Regions from separate parts of the Homo sapiens genome. Here regions 1, 2, 3, 4 and 6 are each linked to region 5. Evidence: promoter capture Hi-C in human tissues and cell types (Jung and others, 2019). All regions are on one chromosome and are shown on one strand. The core of a region is centred on a gene start or on the middle of the fragment in contact, and the rest is flanking DNA. Distances in the headings are between cores, read along the strand shown.

Evidence for each region. The method cuts DNA at HindIII sites, captures the fragments that hold promoters and counts their contacts. A contact is called where the count stands out against the background at its distance.
Region 1: a contact is called between a fragment that was not itself captured here and the fragment with the promoter of PLD5 in region 5, in 1 of the 25 tissues and cell types used here (bladder).
Region 2: a contact is called between a fragment that was not itself captured here and the fragment with the promoter of PLD5 in region 5, in 1 of the 25 tissues and cell types used here (hippocampus).
Region 3: a fragment that was not itself captured here is called in contact with the fragment with the promoter of PLD5 in region 5 in 6 of the 25 tissues and cell types used here (H1 embryonic stem cells, adrenal gland, bladder and 3 more).
Region 4: a contact is called between a fragment that was not itself captured here and the fragment with the promoter of PLD5 in region 5, in 5 of the 25 tissues and cell types used here (H1 embryonic stem cells, dorsolateral prefrontal cortex, mesenchymal stem cells and 2 more).
Region 6: a fragment that was not itself captured here is called in contact with the fragment with the promoter of PLD5 in region 5 in 2 of the 25 tissues and cell types used here (adrenal gland and mesendoderm cells).

What each region holds. Positions count from the first base shown.
Region 1 is chr1:242,016,145-242,019,524 of GRCh38, forward strand. No RefSeq gene overlaps it. Among named protein-coding and RNA genes, the nearest start is that of MAP1LC3C, 19 kb to the left of the region's middle. The HindIII fragment of the contact is 9,592 bases long and covers 1-3,380 here.
Region 2 is chr1:242,826,246-242,829,696 of GRCh38, forward strand. No RefSeq gene overlaps it. Among named protein-coding and RNA genes, the nearest start is that of LINC01347, 270 kb to the right of the region's middle. The HindIII fragment of the contact is 4,027 bases long and covers 1-3,451 here.
Region 3 is chr1:242,892,049-242,895,248 of GRCh38, forward strand. No RefSeq gene overlaps it. Among named protein-coding and RNA genes, the nearest start is that of LINC01347, 210 kb to the right of the region's middle. The HindIII fragment of the contact is 6,988 bases long and covers 1-3,200 here.
Region 4 is chr1:242,849,754-242,853,099 of GRCh38, forward strand. No RefSeq gene overlaps it. Among named protein-coding and RNA genes, the nearest start is that of LINC01347, 250 kb to the right of the region's middle. The HindIII fragment of the contact is 9,355 bases long and covers 1-3,346 here.
Region 5 is chr1:242,522,939-242,526,104 of GRCh38, forward strand. It overlaps PLD5 (phospholipase D family member 5), which reads right to left and starts at 1,759. Exons shown (of 10, transcript NM_001372062.1): 1 at 1,150-1,759. The coding sequence starts at 1,338. The HindIII fragment of the contact is 9,545 bases long and covers 1-3,166 here.
Region 6 is chr1:242,941,382-242,944,736 of GRCh38, forward strand. No RefSeq gene overlaps it. Among named protein-coding and RNA genes, the nearest start is that of LINC01347, 160 kb to the right of the region's middle. The HindIII fragment of the contact is 4,970 bases long and covers 1-3,355 here.

The sequences.
Region 1 (3,380 bases), core at 251-2,750, 510 kb before region 5:
ATATAAATCTCCCTGCTCATCACACATAGCTGTTGCCCCCGAAACAGGAAATTGAGGGACAGAGAAATCTAAGGAAAAAACAAAACTCCTAAATATGACTCCTCACACCTAGGGTCAACTGCAAATCCCAGGCAGGACTCTTCACGGTCTGATCTCAATCCCTCCAACACTGTGTCTCATCCTGCACAACAAACCCTCCATCCCAGCTCCTCCTTGCCCCATCAGCACCCATTCCAATTTCCTCCTCCAAACCTTGAAGTTTTATCCTTGCATCTTAGATGCTCTTGGTGTTTCCTTTCAATCTTGCATGGATCTTATTCCAGGCAATATCTTTTACCCTAAAATATCTTCTGTAGTTATGGCATTGCCAGGTGCATTTATATTTAACTTTGAATGTGCTCATGGGCTCAGTAAATATGAATGGATTTGGCTTACTCTCAACCAACAATTAGTGAGAATTGTGCAATATGCAAAGATGTGCTTGATACAGCCTCTTCCCTCATTGGGAAGGTATGAGTGGATCATTTCTTCTCTGTTTATGTTCTCAATTGTGCATCAACTGGGTTATTTGTTTCCAAGCTTCAGAAGCTCTGTTTAAGCCAAGAACACAGCTACACAGCTGGGAATGTTCCTCTCCTGGGTGGAGAGTATTACAGAATGATTCAAATCATGGAATAGCATGTACTTAAAACCATCCAAGGGTGGCCAGACCACCTTTAAATCTCTCTCTTTAAAGTCTTGGCTTTGGTATATGGATTTTTGGTGTTTTGGTGAATAAAATTACTAACACAATCTACTTTGGATATATATTTAGACAGAGTGCTCTGCCTGCCAGGCTGGAGTGCAGTGGTGCGATCTTGATTTACTGCAATTTCCACTTCCCTGGTTCAAGCAATTCTCCTGTCTCAGCCTCCCAAGTAGCTGGGACTACAGGCACGTGCCACCATGCCTGGCTAATTTTTGTATTTTTAGTAGAGACAGGGTTTCACCATATTGGCCAGGCTGGTCTCAAACTCCTGACCTCAGGTGATCTACCCATTTGGGCCTCCCAAAGTGCTGGGATTATAGGCATGAGCCACCGTGCCCAGCCTGGACTGATATATTAGACTAAAAATTTGAATTATAGGCCAGGCACGGTGGTTCACGCCTGTAATCCCAGCTCTTTGGGAGGCCAAGGTGGGCAGATAATAAGGTCAGGAGATCGAGACCATCCTGGCTAACACGGTGAAACCCCATCTCTACTAAAAACACAAAAAATTAGCCGGGCGTGGTGGCGGGCGCCTGTAGTCCCAGCTACTTGGGAGGCTGAGGCAGGAGAATCGCTTGAACCCAGGAGGCGGAGGTTGCAGTGAGCCGAGATCGCAGCACTGCACTCCAGCCTGGGTGACAGAGTGAGACTTTGTGTCATAAAACAAACAAACAAAAACACTTAAAAAATAAAAATTTGAATTATCTTCAAATGTGATGGGGCCATGCGCTTACCAAAAATAAAATAAAATAATAAAATAAAATAAAATAAAATAAAATAAAATAAAATAAAATAAAATAAATAAAATAAACTACTACTGAGGTACACGAAGACCAAACTGCTGCTTGGACATACGCACAATGGGTAAAATGTGCCCCCGCCCTCCACCCGGCTACTGACTCTTTGTTGCCCTCTGCTGTTCCTCATGTTGGCTACATCGAGTTACTGCAAATAGAGCCAACTCTGCAAATTGACCAAGTGACAAATGATCACATTGAACAAATTTCCTGACTGTGGTTTTAACAGCATTGACATGAATGTTCCATTCTCAGTTACTGAAGATGAAATTCTAAACGTTAAAGTTAATGCTTTAAAAAATTTCTCCCCAAATTGGTAAAAATTCGAAGCAAAAATTCTGTTATGAAATAAAACACTTCCATTACATTTCCCAGCCTAAAATTTGGTATTCCATGTGATAGAATTAATTCTAGATAGTTCTTATTTCTTTTAAAATATTTGAAATATTATTTCTATTTTTTCCAGAACACAAACTTTTTTTTTTTTTTTTTTTTTTTTGTCGCCCATGCTGGAGTGCAGTGGCGTAGTCTCAGCTCACTGCAACCTCTGCCTCCTGGGTTCAAGTGATTGTTCTGTGTCAGCCTCCCGAGTAGCTGAGATTACAGGCATGTGCCACCATGCCTGGCTAATTTTTTTTTTTTTGTATTTTTAGTAGAAACAAGGTTTCACCATGTTGGCCAGCCTGGTCTCGAACTCCTGACCGCAGGTGATCTGCCTGACTAGGCCTCCCAAAGTGCTGGGATTATAGGCATGAGCCACTGCACCCGGCCTGAACTTACAAAATATATTAAAAATTCAGCAAGAAATACTCAAAATTGACAAGAGTTTAAAAAGCCATTTTTGATAAGTTGATACATTTGAATGAGATGATTTTCCTGTGTAGCCTCATTTTGGGTTATGATTTGATGTATTTAAGCATTTCCTTTATGTGCAATAAGTCTCATGGCTGCTCACTTAATACAGACACTTCATGTGAGTATAGTAGTTTATGGCTTAAAAATCTTTCTCCTTTTTTTTTGAGTGCAGTGGTATAATCTTGGCTCACTGCAACCTCCACTTCCAGGGTTCAAGTGATCCTCCCACCTCAGCCTCCTGATTAGCTGGGATTACAGGCGTGCGCCACCACACCTGGCTAATTGTTTTGTGTTTTCAGTGGAGACGAGGTTTCGCCACTGTTGGTTAGGCTGGTCTTGAACTCCTGACTTCAAGTGATCTGCCCCCTTCAGCCTCCCAAATTGTTGGGATTACAGGCATGAGCCACTGTGCCCGGTCTCTTACAAATGTTCTTGACACATTGTCTCAGTTGATCTGCACGGCATTTCTGAGAGGTGGTGGTGTTCTTGTCTTTCAACCAGTTAGGCAGGTACCTCCGAGAAGATGAGCAATTTCCACAAAGGCACCCAATTTAGAATATTAGAAACACCAAAAGTTTACATAATTCAGCTGTAATGCAATGTGTATTGGCTAGCATCTGCGGTTTAACACTATTGTTTTATCAAGCCCAGGCGTTTCCATACAAGTAGTACTTGGAACTCTCCCATGGGTCCTCCTCTTGCAATCACAGCATTTGACACTTTTGATTGGATGCTTTTTCATGGTAGCGAATATTTGTTGAGAAACTGTTCTGTATCAGTCACAGTGCTAAGCGTTCCTGTGTATCCTCCACACTCAAGTCTCAACAGTAACCTGCTCACTAACGGATCTCAAATCTGTATCTTCAGCCCAGGGCTCCCTCATTTCCATTTGGTTGCCTAACACCTGCTAGAAGGTGGAAAAAGAGTCGTAGCAAGTACTGCAATCATCTGCCCACTATTAGAATATCTAAATACGAGGC
Region 2 (3,451 bases), core at 210-2,709, 300 kb after region 5:
ATTGGACCTAAACTACATATAACCTTTAGCAATGCAAGAATTATGATAACAAAGAGAATTATCTAGTAGGTCAGGAGTTGCCTGGCAGATAGGAGATGGAGATCATTTAATTTTAAGGAGATAAACTTGAGCTAATACTTGAAGGAGGGGAATATGACTGGACAAACAGAAGGAAGGCATCTGAAAAGCTGACACCTTGAGAGGTCGTTCCAGAGGTCCTGGAGGTGGAGGCAGAAATAGGTCTTATTACCCAGTCTTTGCATTGTCCCTCATACGTAGTGCTCTTTTTGCCTTCCTATGTCTACCACTCTTGCACACAGCATCTTTTTCTAATGTGCAGACAACCATCTGACCATCCGGAACTCTACACTGGCCCCTGGCCATATAATCCATTCAAGCAACATCACAGAGAGTGCAGGAGAGGCATCATAAAGGTGACAAAGTGACAAGAGCCCCGAGGCTCTGACACTTAGTAATATAAATATTTATGAAGCTAATAAGGACAGAGATATACTGATTTGGGTAACAAGGTGTCCTGAAAGGAATGTCAAGACCAGCTTTCAAAAACGGGGTTCCCCAGAGCCTCCCAAAGCCGCAGAGATGTGCTCAGGCAGCAGACCCTGCTGACAACAGCCTGCATGAAATGCAAGGGCTAGGGAGCCGGCTATTTTTATCATCCTATATTGTTTATAGTTGGCAAATGCTTGATATTGTGTGAGAGTCTCCTCACAGAATTTATGAATCATTTTCCCCAGTCACAATTCTGAAACGAACATTCTCCTACACATTTGTGCCAGACAGAAATTTCATTAGAAGTTTATCCTCGGGGTGTGCACTTTAGACCAACATTTTTTTTTTTACAGGCTCAGATCTGATGTCAGAACCCTGAGTTCTGGTCTCTGCCTCACCTCTTGCTAGCTTCTAACAGAGCTGTATCTGATTCTCTCTCTCCCTAGGCAGCAAGAGCATCTGTCCCACTCAAAAGAGCAGCAACAGACCTGGAGAAAGGAACTCCATTTCTTTCTCATTATATATATTCTCCATATGTTTAAATATTTACACACACACACACACACACACACACACATATCAATGGAAACAAATGAAAACCAGACCTAAGTTCATTATTAAAATCCCGGCTATGAACTTCCATTTTCTTTCCTGGAAAACATTTTTTGGGGATCTTTTGAACTCTAATGAAAATGTGGTGAAATTCATAATTGAAATATGTTTTAAGCTGCCTAAATTGTCTTTGCCTGAAGGCTGATTATATACTTATTAAGATGTCTCTGACCCCAGATGGTGAGAAAAAAGTATATTAAGTCATTTCTTGTTTTATTTAAATATTTATTGAACATTTACCATTTTCATCAAATACCTTTAGAGCATTTTATGAGCATTTCAAACATGCAAGTTTTATCTCCTTTTTACAGATGGGATGACTCTACACAGAGTAGCTGAGATAGGCTGACTCACTCCTGTGCCAATCCCTTGACTAAAGTCCTCAAAAAAAAAAAAAAAAAAAAAACCAGATGGAGTTCCAGATTTTGTCTACAGAAAATAGTTCTGTTGCTACAGACAAAGCCTCAGCATTAAAAATGCCAAGCTCTCCCCTCTCTAAAACTCTGTATCATTTTTTGTTTTCTGGGTTTAGGTATGACTAATACCTAACATTCACAAAGAGACAAAATAGATATAGATAGGAATATAGATTAGTTTTAGATACAGATATGTATGCACAGAAAAAGAAGAAAAAGAATGTACAGCAAAATATTAATCACTGGATTATCACTGGGGAATCGCTGCATGTTGTGGTCAGCTTGTGTTTCCTATCTTTTGCTTTTTCTGTTTTTACATCATTTCAGTAAATATATAATTCAGGACATATAATAACATTTTTACAGTGCTTCCACTTTTCCCTTCCTTCCTGTTCCTTCCTGAACAATGCATCCTCAAGCTATTTATTGAGGTAGAGCAAGACAGGCTGATAGGGATAGAACGGGCCACCGTGCCTCCAAGCAGGTGTCAAGGCCCATGTGGGGTGAAGAGGACATGCATGCAGGAGGGATGCCTGGCATGGGGTATGGGAACCCAAGTGGTAAAGAGGCTGTCTGAGAGGTGGGGCGGCATGGGAATGAGGAGTCAGTGTGCCAGCAAGATGAGAAGGCCATGTCTGCAGAGGGCAGCCTAGTACTGGGAATCAGAGACCAAGCATGGTAAGGAGTGTGTCTACGCCAGGGGGCATGATCGGCGTGAGTTGGAGGGCGTTAGGAGGGCATCCACACACAAGGGAAGCCTGGCATGAGTTGGGGTCCAGGCAGAATGAAAAGGGTGGTCATGTCTAGGTGAAGTCTGACAGCGCATGAAAACCCAAGGGGCTAAGAAAATGCCCATGAAGATAGATGGGGGGCAGGTGGCAGCATAGAACTGGGTGTCAGAAACTAAGTGAGGAGAGAAGGCCTCTAGGTAGGTTGTTCTATTTGTCCCTGTCAACCACATAATGTCTTGATAATGCTAATATTTCAGCCTCTTGATTATTTCTCCCAAAAAAGAGAAAAGATGTTTGGGTCCATGTCAACATGACATTGATGACATTGAAAAAAAGAAAATCTGCCACTGAAGTCGTTTTGTGTCATAAAAAAAATGGTTTAAGTTATTTGGAAAAAAACTCTGTCACTGTTCATCCAGGTTCGCCGGTCACAGACTCTCCCTTGTCTCCCTGGGCTTGAATCAAAGCCTCCCCAGCTGTGTCTTTGTGATGAGGCCAGAGAGCATGGCTGTATTACTCTTGGCATTCATGCTCAGGCAGAACAAAGGCAATCTGAATGTCTGATTCACCCCCACAGGGCTCTAACAAAGCAGTTAGGCTTTGGAAAAGGGTAAAAATTCAGCAGACACAAGACAAGCATGCTATCCCACCTTGATTCTCACGCCCACTGTAGATACTAATGATTGGGCATTAAATACTCCTTCCCACCAGGAACTCATGCCTCAGAATCTTTTTTAACACGGGATTCCAATTCCCCATTACCAATCAGTAGAAGTTGCTACAAAAGATGAAATTTATTTGCCAACCTTGATATAAAAATAATTGAAGTTTTTGCTTGATATGAGCTAAATCATATACTGGGGAAAAGAAAATGCAGCAAGATATCAAAATTTGCTCAAGATCTATGGGGAAGAGCAAGATGGAGACTGGCAACTGTGGAAACATTTTCAAATCCTAGAATTTGTAGGGGGTAACTCTTGTCAAATTCAACATCAGCCCTCCACAGCCCCAAGAAACTCTGTAAGCGACCATTTACCTTACCTTGGAGGACTGTATAATCAAAGGAATCAGAATCACCTGAAAGCTTCACAGCATGTCAAGAGCAAGACCCACACCACTCTCCCAGGAGCATATGGACCTTTTCTAAAACCAATTATTGGATAGCCACGCAACACCCAATGA
Region 3 (3,200 bases), core at 45-2,544, 370 kb after region 5:
ACATGTACCCTAAAACTTAAAGTATAATAAAAAAAAAAAAAAAAAAAAAAAAAAGAAGTAAGGGCTTTATTCGGCCGGGAGCTTCGGCAAGACTCACGTCTCCAACAACCGAGCTCCCAGAGTGAGCAATTCCTGTCCCTTTTAAGGGCTCACAACTCTAAGGGGGTCTGCGTGAGAGGGTCGTGATCCATTGACCAAGCAGGCGGTACGTGACTGGGGGCTGCATGCACCAGCAATTAGAATGGAACAGAACAGGACAGGGATTTTCACAGTGCTTTTCTATACAATGTCTGGAATCTGTAGATAACATAGCCGATTAGGTCAGGGGTCGATCTTTAACTACCAGGCCCAGGGTGTGGCGCCGGGCTGTCTGCCTGTGGATTTCATTTCTGCCTTTTAGTTCTTAGTTCTTCTTTCTTTGGAGACAGAAATTGGGCATAAGACAATATGAGGGGTGGTCTCCTCCCTTACAAGAACTGTAGGATGGTGGTGAAGTCCCACTAGGAGCCCAGGAAGCTCCTGAAGGAGGGGATGGTTTGACCCTGGAAGGCTGGAACCAGGGATTCCACCAGCCTCTCCCTTGTGCCTGGCTGGGGGGTCCCTCTGCATAGTACAGATCTCCCCTAGGTTCAGAGTACGCTCATTTTCATACTAGAGAGGACCAGGAAGGACACGGTCAGTGACAGCATCATGAGCCACCAGGGAATTGGGATCTGGAGATCAGACTAGGAAGCCTCAACCCTTCAGGGACTTGTGCATGTGGAGGACATGGGTGTTCATGGTGAAAAAGGTTTTAGACTTTCAATGTAAAATGTGATGGGGGGGACAGATATTCATTAAATCATTAATAGCTTCAAGGCACCATCACAGTATTTGGCAACTGTGGAGCAACAGCACCCACCTGTATTAACAGCCTGTATGAAGAGCACTATCCAAGTGAGTCCTCAAAAAAAATACACTCATTGTATAGATGAGAAGACACAGACTTTTGGATGTCAAATGGCTGCTCAACAGCACATCAGTCAGAACAGAGAATCATCCACAAGGGAGGCTGCATGAAATTCCCTCTAAACTACCTGAGGCTCAGCCTGCTCCTGCCATGGAGGAGAAGGGCCTGGGGAAGCTTCCTTTCCTCTCCTTTTCAGAGACAGTGCACAGGGCAAGACACTCTAGAAGAACTCTTTGGACTTAAAGCAACATAATTTGTTTTTCTTCCTTTAACATTAAAGGGAGTCTTGAGAAATAGCTAAAACAATCCCACACCTGGCAAAAGGGAAAATGCCAGGAGACTCCAGGCAGAAAGCTCATCAGAGAACCTAGGGGATCTGAGCATTTGGCTCAGGGAAAAGACGCCCTGAGCAGATATTAAACAACTGAAAGACAACAAACACATCCATTGGGAAACTTGGGAATGAAAGGAACAACGTGATTGTACTTGCCACACAGACACCAGGTTGGCAAAACATTAGAAATGTTAACCTCCAGGGGAGGCTGAATGCAGGGAACCAGCTACCTTCAGGGACTGCTGGTGACAATGTACCTGCTACAGCCCTTTTGGAAAGTTATCGGGCTGTAGCTATACAATCTGACATATGTGTACTCCGGAGTGAGTTAGTATATGTTATCGGATGAATTGTGTTCCCTCCCACAAATTCATACACTCAGTGCCTCAGAATCTAACTGTCTTTGGACATATGCTCCTTAAAGAGGTAATTAACATGGCCAGGTGCGGTTACCGCTCGCTCACACCTGTAATCTCAGCACTTTGAAAGGCTGAGGCAGGTGGATCACCTGAGGTCAGGAGTTCGAGACCAGCCTGGCCAACATTGTAAAACCCCATCTCTACTAAAAATACAAACAATCAGCCAGGTGTGGCGGCACACGCCTGTAATCCCAGCTACTTGGGAGGTTAAGGCAGGAAAATCACTTGAACCTGGGAGACAGAGGTTGCAGTGAGCCGAGATCGCGCCACTGTACTCCAGCCTGGGCAATAGAGCAAGACTCGATCTCAAAAAAGGAAAAAAAAAGAGGTAATTAACATGAAGTGGGTTCACTGGGGTGGGCCCTAATCCACTATGACTAGAGTCCTTATAAGGAGAGGCAGCAAGGATACAGGGAGGCACAAGAGAAGACCTTGTGAGCACAGAAATAGAAGACAGCTGTTTACAAGCCAGGGAGAGAGGCCTCAGAGAAACTAGCCCAGCCAGGAGCTTGATGTCAAATTTCTTGCCTCCAGAACTGTGAGAAACTAAATTTCTGTTGTTAAAGCCCTTCAGTCTGTGATACCATGTTATGGGAGGTCTAGCAAACTGTTGCAGCCTCTTCAGACACACATAGAATGTTCCCTGCAGCCCAGTGGGGCTCTGTGTTCTGTGAGACAACACATTGCAGACAAACAAATAGAGTGGTTTCACCCACTTTTTGTGTACAAGTCCCCTTTTGGTAAAAAAAAAAAAACAAAACTCCCTAGTAAGACTGATGATTTGTGTTTGTTCTTTGAGACACAGTCTCACTCTGTCGCCCAGGCTGGAGTGCACTGGCCTGATCTTGGCTCACTGTGACCTCTACCTCCTGGGTTCAAGTGATTCTCCTGCCTCAGCTTCCCGAGTAGCTGAGGCTACAGGTGCACACCACCACACCCAGCTAATTTTTGTATTTTTTGTAGAGGCAGGGTTTCACCACATTAGCCAGGCTAGTCTCGAACTCGTGACCTCAAGTAATCTGCCAGCCTCGGCCTCCCAAAGTGCTGAGATTACAGGCATGAGCCACTCTCCCTGGCCAAGACTAATGGCTTTTGCTTTTTTTGAGACAGAGTCTGCCTCTGTCTCCCAGGCTGGAGGGCAGTTGCACGATCTCAGCTCACTGCAAACTTCATCTCCTGATTCAAGAGATTCTCCTGCCTCAGCCTGCTGAGTAGCTGGGATTAAAGGCACCCGCCACTACGCCCAGCTAATTTTTGCATTTTTAGTAGAGACGGGGTTTCACCATGTTGGCCAGGCTGCTCTCGAACTCCTGACCTCAGGCAATCTGCCCGCTGGGATTACAGGCATGAGCCACCACACCCAGCCTAGACTGATGGTTTTTAAGGTTTGGAGAAGGTCTACCGAGGCAATGGAACTTTGTGCTACACGAGAGAATTGCGGTAGATAGATAAAACAATAAAAACAGTGACAACATGCAAAAGATACTCATGGCCTAGT
Region 4 (3,346 bases), core at 449-2,948, 330 kb after region 5:
GGCTGTACTAGTTTACATTCCCACCAGCAGTGTAGAAGTGTTTCCTCTTCACCACATCCACACCGACATCTACTGTTTCTTGATTTTTTGATTATGGCCATTCTTGCAGGAGTAAGGTGGTATCGCATTGGGGTTTTGATTTGCATTTCCCTAATCATTAGTGATGTTGAGTATTTTTTCATATGTTTGTTGGCCATTCGTTTACCTTCTTTTGAAAATTGTCTATTCATGTACTTAGCCCACTTTCTGATGGGGTCGTTTTTTTCTTGCTGATTTGTTTGAGTTCATTGTAGATTCTGGATATTAGTCCTTTGTCTGATGTGTAGATTGTGAAGATTTTCTCCCACTCTGCGTGTTGTCTGTTTATTCTGCTGACTGTTCCTTTTGCTGTGAAAAAGCTTTTTAGCTTAATTATGTCCCAGCTATTTATCTTTGTTTTTATTGCATTTGCTTTTGGGTTCTTGGTCATGAAATCCTTCCCTAAGCCAATGCCTAGAGGGTTTTTCCAATGTTGTCTTCTAGAATTTTTATAGTTTCAGGTCTGATATTTAAGTCCTTAATCCATCTTGAGTTAATTTTTGTATAAGGTGAGAGATGAGGTTACAGTTTCCTTCTCCTACATGTGTCTAGCCAATTATCCCAGCACCATTTGTTGAAAACAGTGTCCTTTCCTCACCTTATGTTTTTGTTTGCTTTGTTAAAGATCATTTGGCTGTAAGTATTTGGGTTTATTTCTGGGTTCTCTATTCTTTTCCATTGGTCTATGTGCCTATTTTTATACTGGTACCATACTGTTTGGGCGGCTATGGCCTTATAGTATAGTTTGAAATCAGGTAATGTGATGCCTCCAGATTTGTTCTTTTGCTTAGGTTTGCTTTGGGTGTGCAGGCTGTTTTTTTGGTTCCATATGAATTTTAGGATTGTTTTTTCTAATTCTGTAAGAATAATGGTGGTATTTTGATGGGGATTGCATTGAATTTATAGATTGCTTTTGACAGTATGGTCATTTTCACAATATTGATTTTACCCATCCATGAGCATGGGATGTGTTTCCATTTGTGTCATCTATGATTTCTTTCAGCAGTGTTTTGTAGTTTTCCTTGTAGAGGTCTTTCACCTCCTTGGTTAGGTATATTCCCAAGCATTTTATGTTTTTTGCAGCTATTGTAGAAGGGGTTGAATTCTTGATTTGATTCTCCACTTGGTTGCTGTTGGTGTATAGAAGAGCTACTTATTTGTGTACATTAATTTTGCATCCAGGAATTTTGCTGCATTCTTCTATCAGTTGTAGGAGCTTTCTAGGGGAATCTTTAGGGTTTTCAAGGTAAACTGTCATATCATCAACAGTGACAGTTTGACTTCCTCTTTATCTGTTTGTATGCTCTTTATTTCTTTCTCTTGTCTGATTGCTCTGGCTAGGATTTCTAGTACTGTGTTGAAGAGGAGTGGTGAGAGTGGGCATCCTTGTCTTGTTCCAGTTCTCAGAGTGAATGCTTTCGACTTTTCCCCATTCAGTATTCTGTTGGCTGTGGGTTTGTCATAGATGGCTTTTATTACATTGAGGTATGTCCCTTGTATTCTGATTTTGCTGAAAGTTTTCATCATAAAGGGATGCTGGATTTTGTCAAATGATTTTTCTGTATCTATTGACATGATCATGTGACTTTTGTTTTTAATTCTGTTTATGTGGTTTATCACATTTATTGACTTGTGTATGCTAAACCATCCCTGCATCCGTGGTATGAAATCCACTTGATCGTGGTAAATTATCTTTTTGATATGTTGTTGGATTCAGTTAGCTAGTATTTTGTTAAAGATTTTAGCATCTATGTTCATCAGGGATATCAGTCTATACTTTTCTTTTTTGTTTATGTTCTTTCCTAGGTTTGGCATTAGGGTGATGCTGGCTTCATAGAATGAATTAAGGAGAGTTCCCTCTTTCTCTGTTTTGTGGAATAGTGTCAATAGGATTGGTACCAATTCTTCTTTGAATGTCTGGTAGAATTCTGCTGCAAATCCATCTGGTCCTAGATTTTTTTTGTTGGTAATTTTTAAATTATCATTTCAATCTCACTGCTTGTTATTGGTCTGTTCAGGGTATCTACTTCTTCCTGATTTAAGCTAGGAAGGTTGTATTTTTCCAGGAATGTATCCATCTCATCTAGGTTTTCTAGTTTATGCATGTAAATGTGTTCATACTGGCCTCAAATTATCTTTTGTATTTCCGTGGTGTCAGTTGTAAAATCTCTCATTTCATTTCTTATTAAGGTTATTTGGATTTTCTCTCTTCTTTTCTTGGTTAATCTTGCTAATGCTCTATCAATTTTATTTATCTTTTTGAAGAACCAGCTTTTTGTTTCATTTATCTTTTGTAATTTTTTTGTTTCAATTCACTTAATTCTGCTCTGATCTTGGTTAGTTCCTTTCTTCTGCTGGGTTTTGGTTTGATTTGTTCTTGCTTCTCTAGGTCCTTAAAGTGTGACCTTAGATTGTCAGTTTGTGCTCTTTTAGTCTTTTTGATGTAGGCGTTTAGGGATATAAACTTTCCTCTTAGCATCACCTTTGCTGTATCTCAGACGTTTTGATAGGTTGTGTCACTATTGTCATTATGTTTGAATAATTTTTTATTCCCATCTTGATTTCGTTTTGACCCAAGGATCATTCAGGAGCAGATTATTTAAGCTCCATGTATTTGCATGGTTTTGAAGTTTCCATTTGGAGTTGATTTACAATTTTATTCCACTGTGGTCTGAGAGAGTGCTTGGCCTAATTTCAATTTTCTTTAGTTTATTGAGGCTCTTTTGTGGCCTATCATATGGTCTATCTTGGAGAATGCTCCACATGCTGTTGAATAGAATATATATTCTGCTGTAGTTGGATGGAATGTTCTGTATATATCCGTTAAGTCCATTTGTTCCAAGGCATAGTTTAACTCCATAGTTTCTTTGTTGACTTTCTGTCTTGTTGACCTGTCTAGTGCTGTCAGTGGAGTACTGAAGTCCCCCACTATTATTGTGTTGCTGTCTATCTCATTTCTTAGGTCTATTAGTAATAGTTTTATAAATCTGGAAGCTCCAGTGTTAGGTGCATATATGTTTAGGATTGTGATATTTTCCTGTTGGACAGGGCCTTTTACCTTATATAATGTCCCTCTTTGTCTCTTTTAACTGCTGTTGCTTTAAAGTTTCTTTTGTCTGATGTAAGAATAGCTACCCCTGCTTGCTTTTGGTGTCCATTTGCATGAAATGCCTTTTTCCACCCCTTTATATGAGTCCTTATGTGTTAGGTGACTCTATTGAAGGCAGCAGATAGTTGATTGGTGAGTTCTTATCCATTCTGCTGTTCT
Region 5 (3,166 bases), core at 509-3,008:
ACAGACCTTCCTTTCAGATTATTATAATAGAGAAATGCCCCTTCTTCGCGTGTTTCCTCCTGGGAAGAAGCCTGTTGGTGCTGCAGAGCCCAGGAGGAGTGCTTTGGGGGGCAGATGGGAAGCAGGTCGGTGCAGCAGTTGGAAATGCGTGAGTTCCAGGAGTTCTTGGTCTTATCTTTTTTATCATTGTTGGCGTCCTGACCCAAATACAAGGAAACCTCCACATTCCATTAGCAGACTCAATTTGGATTCTGCAGCTCTGCAGGGAGAAATAGCATCTTCTCCTTAGCTAGTTGTGCTGCACTCTTGAGATAATTCTCTTAGTTTAATTTTAACATTTGGTTTAAGAAGATGCTGATGGATCAAATTTGAAACTGTGGATCCACTAAACGCCTTTTTAGAAGGTTTTTTTTTTTTCTTTCAAAATAGCAAGCCTTAGGAGCTCAACTCCAGAGCCAATTCACTTCGCGTGAAGTCGGCACTCCTTGGGAGTAGAGGTCCCCTCTCACCGGCTCCCACCCTCCAGAGGGGAGGATTTCTGGGGAGCCCGACGATCCGCTCGCTTTTAGCCTTTCTCCTTGCAACGCGCAAATCTCTCCCTAGTTGGGCTCAAGTAGAGAGGATCACCAACTGCTCATCCCAGCGGACACTCTGCAAAAAACTCTAATGGCTTGTGCGCGGGTCCACGCTGGTCGCTAGCGGCGCCAACTTTACTCATTCGTTAATTTGCTAGTTTTTGGACTGAGTAAAACAGCCCCCAAAGACGCGGGCAAACGCCGCTCTAAAGCCCACTACCATGCAACGCCAGGTTGCTCGGAGCCACGCTGGTGGCACTTCCCCTTCGTGCTCACTCTGCACAGGCACCTCCAGAACCCCGTGCAAATGAACCCTACCGGGAGACGCAGGTGGGCAGGTCGGGTCGGCAGGGACCAAGAGCCTGAAAGGGAACCTGCCCTCCCCTCCCCGCAGCCCGGTCATTAAGGCAAGAAACTGCAGGCAGAGAAGCCCCCGAATCCGACCTAGGACGTCGGCGCCTGCCAGGATCCCCTCGCCTGCCCCCCGCGCCCCGCGCGCGCTCATGCCACCACCACGGGGAGGGTGCATGCGGCAGGTGCCTGGCCGAGGCCCCCGGGAGCGAGTCGCCCTTACGTGCTCCAGCTTGTCTTTCCTCCGAAGCCAGACGCTGGCGCTGTAGTCCTGCTGCTTGACGCTGCTGTAGAAGTTCGCGCCCACTCGGGTCAGGCTTGGGGAGGGCTCCTTGGGGCGGCTTTTGAGCCTCATCTGCTCGAAGCCCTCATGGGGGGAGGCCGAGAGCCACTCGTGCTGCCGGATCTCCATCCTGACATGACCGGGCGGCCGCCGGCGAGCAGCGGACTCGGGACGGGCGCGCGGGGAGCCGGGCGCGGAGGGCGAGCGGGAGGCCCAGCGGGAGCCGGAGGTGGAGCTGGAGACTGAGCTGGAGGAGCTGGAGGAGCGAGCGGGCGCGGGGAGCGCGGGGTGCTGAGCGCCAGCTGGGAGCGCGGCCGGGCGGGAGGGGGCGATCGCGGGAGGCGCGGGGCGGAAGGAGGGAGGGCGAGGTGCGGGCGGGGGCGGGGGCGGGGGCGGAGGGGGACGGACGGGGAGAAGGGGGACGAGAGGGGACAGGGAGGGAAAGGAACCTGCTCCGGGGAGACAGAAGTGCCCGGTGCGGCGGCGACGTCGCCCGGCGGCTGCGGTCCCGAGCGGGCGCTCCGCTCGCCGGCTCCTTGCGGCACCTACTGGGACCCGGGCCGGCTCCCGGGGCGGCGGCGGCGGCGGGGGTGGGGTGCGGTGGGAGGGGCCGCGGCTGGCCCAGCCAGCCCGCGCCTGCAGGTTGGTGCAGTGAGGAGCCGCCGCCGCCCCTCCCGCCGCGCCCAGGCCCGGGCGGCCGCGCTCCCGCTCCGCACCCGCCTTTCCCGAGCAGGCTACACCTCTCCCTGGCGCATCTTTACTGGAAAGCCGGCAGGCGAGGGGAGAAGTGAGCGCCGTCTCCGCGCCTCCTCGGTCCTGCTGGCTGAGCGCGGGGATGGCTCCGGAGGGAGACACTCAGGAAACCACCTCCGCCCTTCCCCCATCTCTATCCAGCGGCGCCCCCTCACCCTGCCCCCGGCTCGCTTGGGCTGCGCCTTCCCCCATTCTGAAAGTTCACTAACTTCCCACCCCAAGGGACTTAGAGCAGAGGGTGCCCAGCATTCCCCCCTGAAAATAGCCGAGAGACATGTGTTTTCTGGAGCCGTACACGCTACTTTCATCCGATGGTGTGGCGATGCAAATACGCCCGGGGGCAGTAGCCCCTCGGGCAGGCACGCGGGACCGGTTGCTCCCCAGCCCTCGGTGTCCACCTAGAACCGGGCTCCCCGGGCCGCACCCATTCCGATCCTGGGAGGGTGATCCAGGGCTCCTCTGCAACGCTCCGCTTGTGCGGTGACTGTTCCTTAGGTGGACGTGGCCCAACTGCTGTGCATTTGTTTCTTTTCTCTGTTTCTAGGCCCCTAGGGTCCAGGCTTTTCCTTCGGGGCCCAGCCAAGCGTGATGATTATTAGGAATAGGGTGGCTTGTTCGCGATTAAATCTTCAATCTCTTCATCTTTTGCTATCTTTGGAGTCAACCTCTCGAAACATTTTTTGGTTTTATCTAAATGCTAAACAGCTGGTGTTCAGGGTGTCTCGTGTCTGGTTAAAAGCTTGGGAAGTGTATGGAAGCTGGAGAGGTATACAGGGGATTTTAGAGGGTGTTGCCAAGGGTAAACTGAAGGCTCTCTAGCCCTCGGCAGAACTGCCCTACTTGAATGACGGTTTCAAAGACATTCTGGCTGGGATTTCACAAACTTTTAGGAGGACAGGGATTGTGTTTCATATCTTTTCAAAGTCTCCATTTAAAAAAATGGTATAGTAAAAATAGTAGTTGAAATAAAATCCTGTGCACATTCAATATGGGGATGAAACAACTAAACACAAATACACACATTTTGGTTGTGCTAGGTTGGTTTTCTTAGGAGCTGAACTATATTGTGCAATAGATGCCCCGACCTGTGGGCTATCTCTAAGTCTCATGTTATCCTGCAAGATAAATGTTATTAACCCTCCTTTCCAGTGAGGAAAGTGAAGCAGAAGCAGAAATTACACTTCAAAACAAGGATATGAACCAG
Region 6 (3,355 bases), core at 546-3,045, 420 kb after region 5:
CAGCCACCTTCAATTTGTTTAATTAATCTGTTGTGTTTACCTCTGTATCTCTGAATAAATCATGACTAGTCAGTTTTTGGCATTATCTATTGACTTGCTGCTGTGAAGAATGAGGGTGTGGCTTTTGTTCTCTGACTGTGCACCTCCTAGTTACCCTATCTTCACAATCCACTAATTTTGATTTAATAATCAGGATTTACATTATTATTACTCTGTAAACCAGTGATTTTTCGATGTGGCTCAATAATGCCCCTTAGGAGGAAATTTGAAGTGTGGGGCAGCATTTTGGTTTGTCAGAATATTGCGGTAGGAGGATAAACTGGATCAGTGGCATCTAGTGGGTGAGGGTCAGGGATGCCATAAATTCTGCAATATGCAGAACACTGCTGCACAAAAAATTCCCCAAATATCAATAAGTCCTCCTGAGAAGCAGTTAACACTATTTACTGCTAATCTATGCAGTATACAATGGTTACCTTTCTTTCTTGGGCAACTTTTTCTTTTCCCTGGAGTTAACAATTGCCTTGATGTTTTCGTTTTTATCCTCTGAAAGCTTTCATAATCATCTCTTTGTTCCTCAGTATCCTGATATTTCACAATGTATGTTAGTCTATTTTCACCCACAGTGTTGGGCATTCAGAGAACCCTTTCAATCTGAAGATTTCTGTACTTTAGTTCTGGATTATTTTCTAAAACTGTTTCTTGATTTTTTTTTTTCTGTCTCTTTTCCCTGACTTCTTTGATTAACTCATGTTATCTAAGTTTTGGAATTCCTAGTCCTCAAATTTTCATAACTTTTTTCTTTTTGTCTTTAATCTTTCCTTTTTTTTTTTTTTTTTTTGAGACAGAGTTCACTCTGTCACCCAGGCTGGAGAGCACTGGTGCAATCTCAGCTCATTGCAATCTCCACCTCCCAGGTTCAAGCATCTCATGCCTCAGCCTCCCAAGTAGCTAGGATTACAGGTGCACACCACCACACACGGCTAATTTTTGTATTTTTAGTAGAGATGAGGTTTCGCCATGATGGTCAGGCTGGTCTCAAACTCCTGGCCTCAAGTGATCTGCCTGCCTCAGCCTCCCGAAGTGCTGGGATTATAGGTGTGAGCTACTGCACCCGGCCTAATCTTTTTGTTTGCTATATTTCCAGGAAGATTTCCTCAGCTTTTCCTTCGAATCATTCCACTGAGTTGATTTTTGTTTTGTTGTGTTATGTTTTTAATTACAGCTATGGTGGTGGGAGTAGGTCCCAAGATCTTTTTGTTTTCTAAATGTTTCTGTTTTCTAGCATTCTATCCCTGATCCATAGATGCATTTTATCTTTTCAGGGAAATTAGTATAAATAACTTTTTGTCTGATTTTGCATTTTCTTTTTCTTACAGGGAAATCTCCTCCATGACACTTTGTTCTGTTTGTATATTTGATTAGCTTTAATAATTTATATTATAATATAAACAATGGAGCCCAAATGTCTGGTGATCCTTGGCAGTCTGTAAATATTTAAGTGAAGTGCTAAAAAGCTGGCTGATTGTGCACATAACTGCACACCTCCCCACAAGGTGATCTATTCAGACTATTTCCTTGGGAATCCCCATGTCAATATCTGAACTAGTACAGATATTTCTTAGACTAGTACAGTTTCCCTAGAAAAAGCTTTTCTAATATCCTGCCTGAGGGTTATAAGTTTTGCTGTCAACTTTCTAAGAACTCATATGCTATGTAAACTTTCATTTAATTCACCTGTTTTTATTCTGGTACTCCTTCTCCCACTGTGCCTGGGTAACTCTAGAGACCCTCAGATTTTACCCCTACAAAGAATGAATCTTCAGTCTTCTGAAGAGGGCAGGAGGGACAGTCACCAACTGCACGGAATGAGGGAATCAATTTGCAAGTCTATTTTCTTCTTAAACTGACCATCAACCAATGCTTCAACCTTCACCTCGACCTCATTTCCAGAGGCACCTGATCTTGGTGATTCCTGAGCCTTTGCAAGAGCTTTGGAGGGTAGGGTATCTATAGAATAAATCAGAATCTCTGCTTCTCCCATTGTCAACCTTATACCTGACAAGTCAGGTACTTTCTTGGAGCTGACAAATCAGATACCACTCACCCATCTGTTTTTCAGCTTCTAAATTAGTGTTGCCATCATATCCTCTTTAATTCCCTTTGTACTTATAGGTTTTACCTTTTTATTTAAATTTATGGTCATTTTAGTAGGGCGTTGGGGAGAAGAAGAGAGTAATGGAAAAATGGACCCACTGTCATTTTGCAAGTCCTATGATTCAGTCCTTACACAGCAGCCAGAGTGATATTTTTAAAATTCATATTAGATCCTATTACTACCCAGAACCCAAATTGTCAGTGGCTTTTCATTATCATTACAATAAAATTCAAACTCTCTCTGGCTTATAGTTTACAAAACTCTACATTACCTGGGCTCTGACAAATCTCTGGCCTCATTTTCTACCCCCTTGTCTCTTTTTCACTAGATCCTAGTCACTTTGGCCTTTGTTACTCATGCCATGCCTGTTCCCACCTCAGAGCCTTTGCACTTACTGTTCTCTCTATTGGGAAGCTTTTACCCCCAGGTCTTCCAGCAGGCTAATTTTTGTGTGTGTGTGTGAGATGAAGTCTCACCCTGTTGCCCAGACTGGAGTGCAGTGGCATAATCTCAGCTCACTGCAAACTCCGCCTCCCAGGTTCAAGTGATTCTCCTGCCAGGACTACAGGTGCATGCCACCACGCCCAGCTGGTTTTTTGTATTTTTAGTAGAAACGGGGTTTCACCACATTAGCCAGGATGGTCTCGATCTCCTGACCTTGTGATCCACCCACCTCAGCCTCCCAAAGTGCTGGGATTACAGGCATGAGACACCGCGCCCAGCCCCAGCACGCTAATCTTTTGTCATCAAATCTCAGTGTAAATGTCACCTCCTCAGAAAGACTTTCCATGACCACCCAGTCTAAAAGAGCCATCCAGTCACTTACCACCATATTACCTTGTTTTAATTCTCTGCACAGGCTTGTGCATGATTTGATATCATCCCTGTTCATTTGTTTGTTTGCTGTGTTTATTATAAGAATTTAAGGTCAGTGAGAGCAGGGGCCTTATTTTCTTATTCACTTTATCTTGGTGCATAGAATAATTCTTGTATTAGTCAAGGTTTTCAGGGAAACAGAACCAATAATCTGTGTGTGTGTGTGTGTGTGTGTGTGTGTGCGCGCGCGCGCGCGCACGCATAAGAAAAAGAGATTTGTTATAAGAAATTGGCTCACGTGATTATGAAGGCTGAGAAGTCCAGACCCAGGAGAGCTGATGGTGATAGTTCCAGTCAGAACCTAAGTCAGAAGGCAGAAGA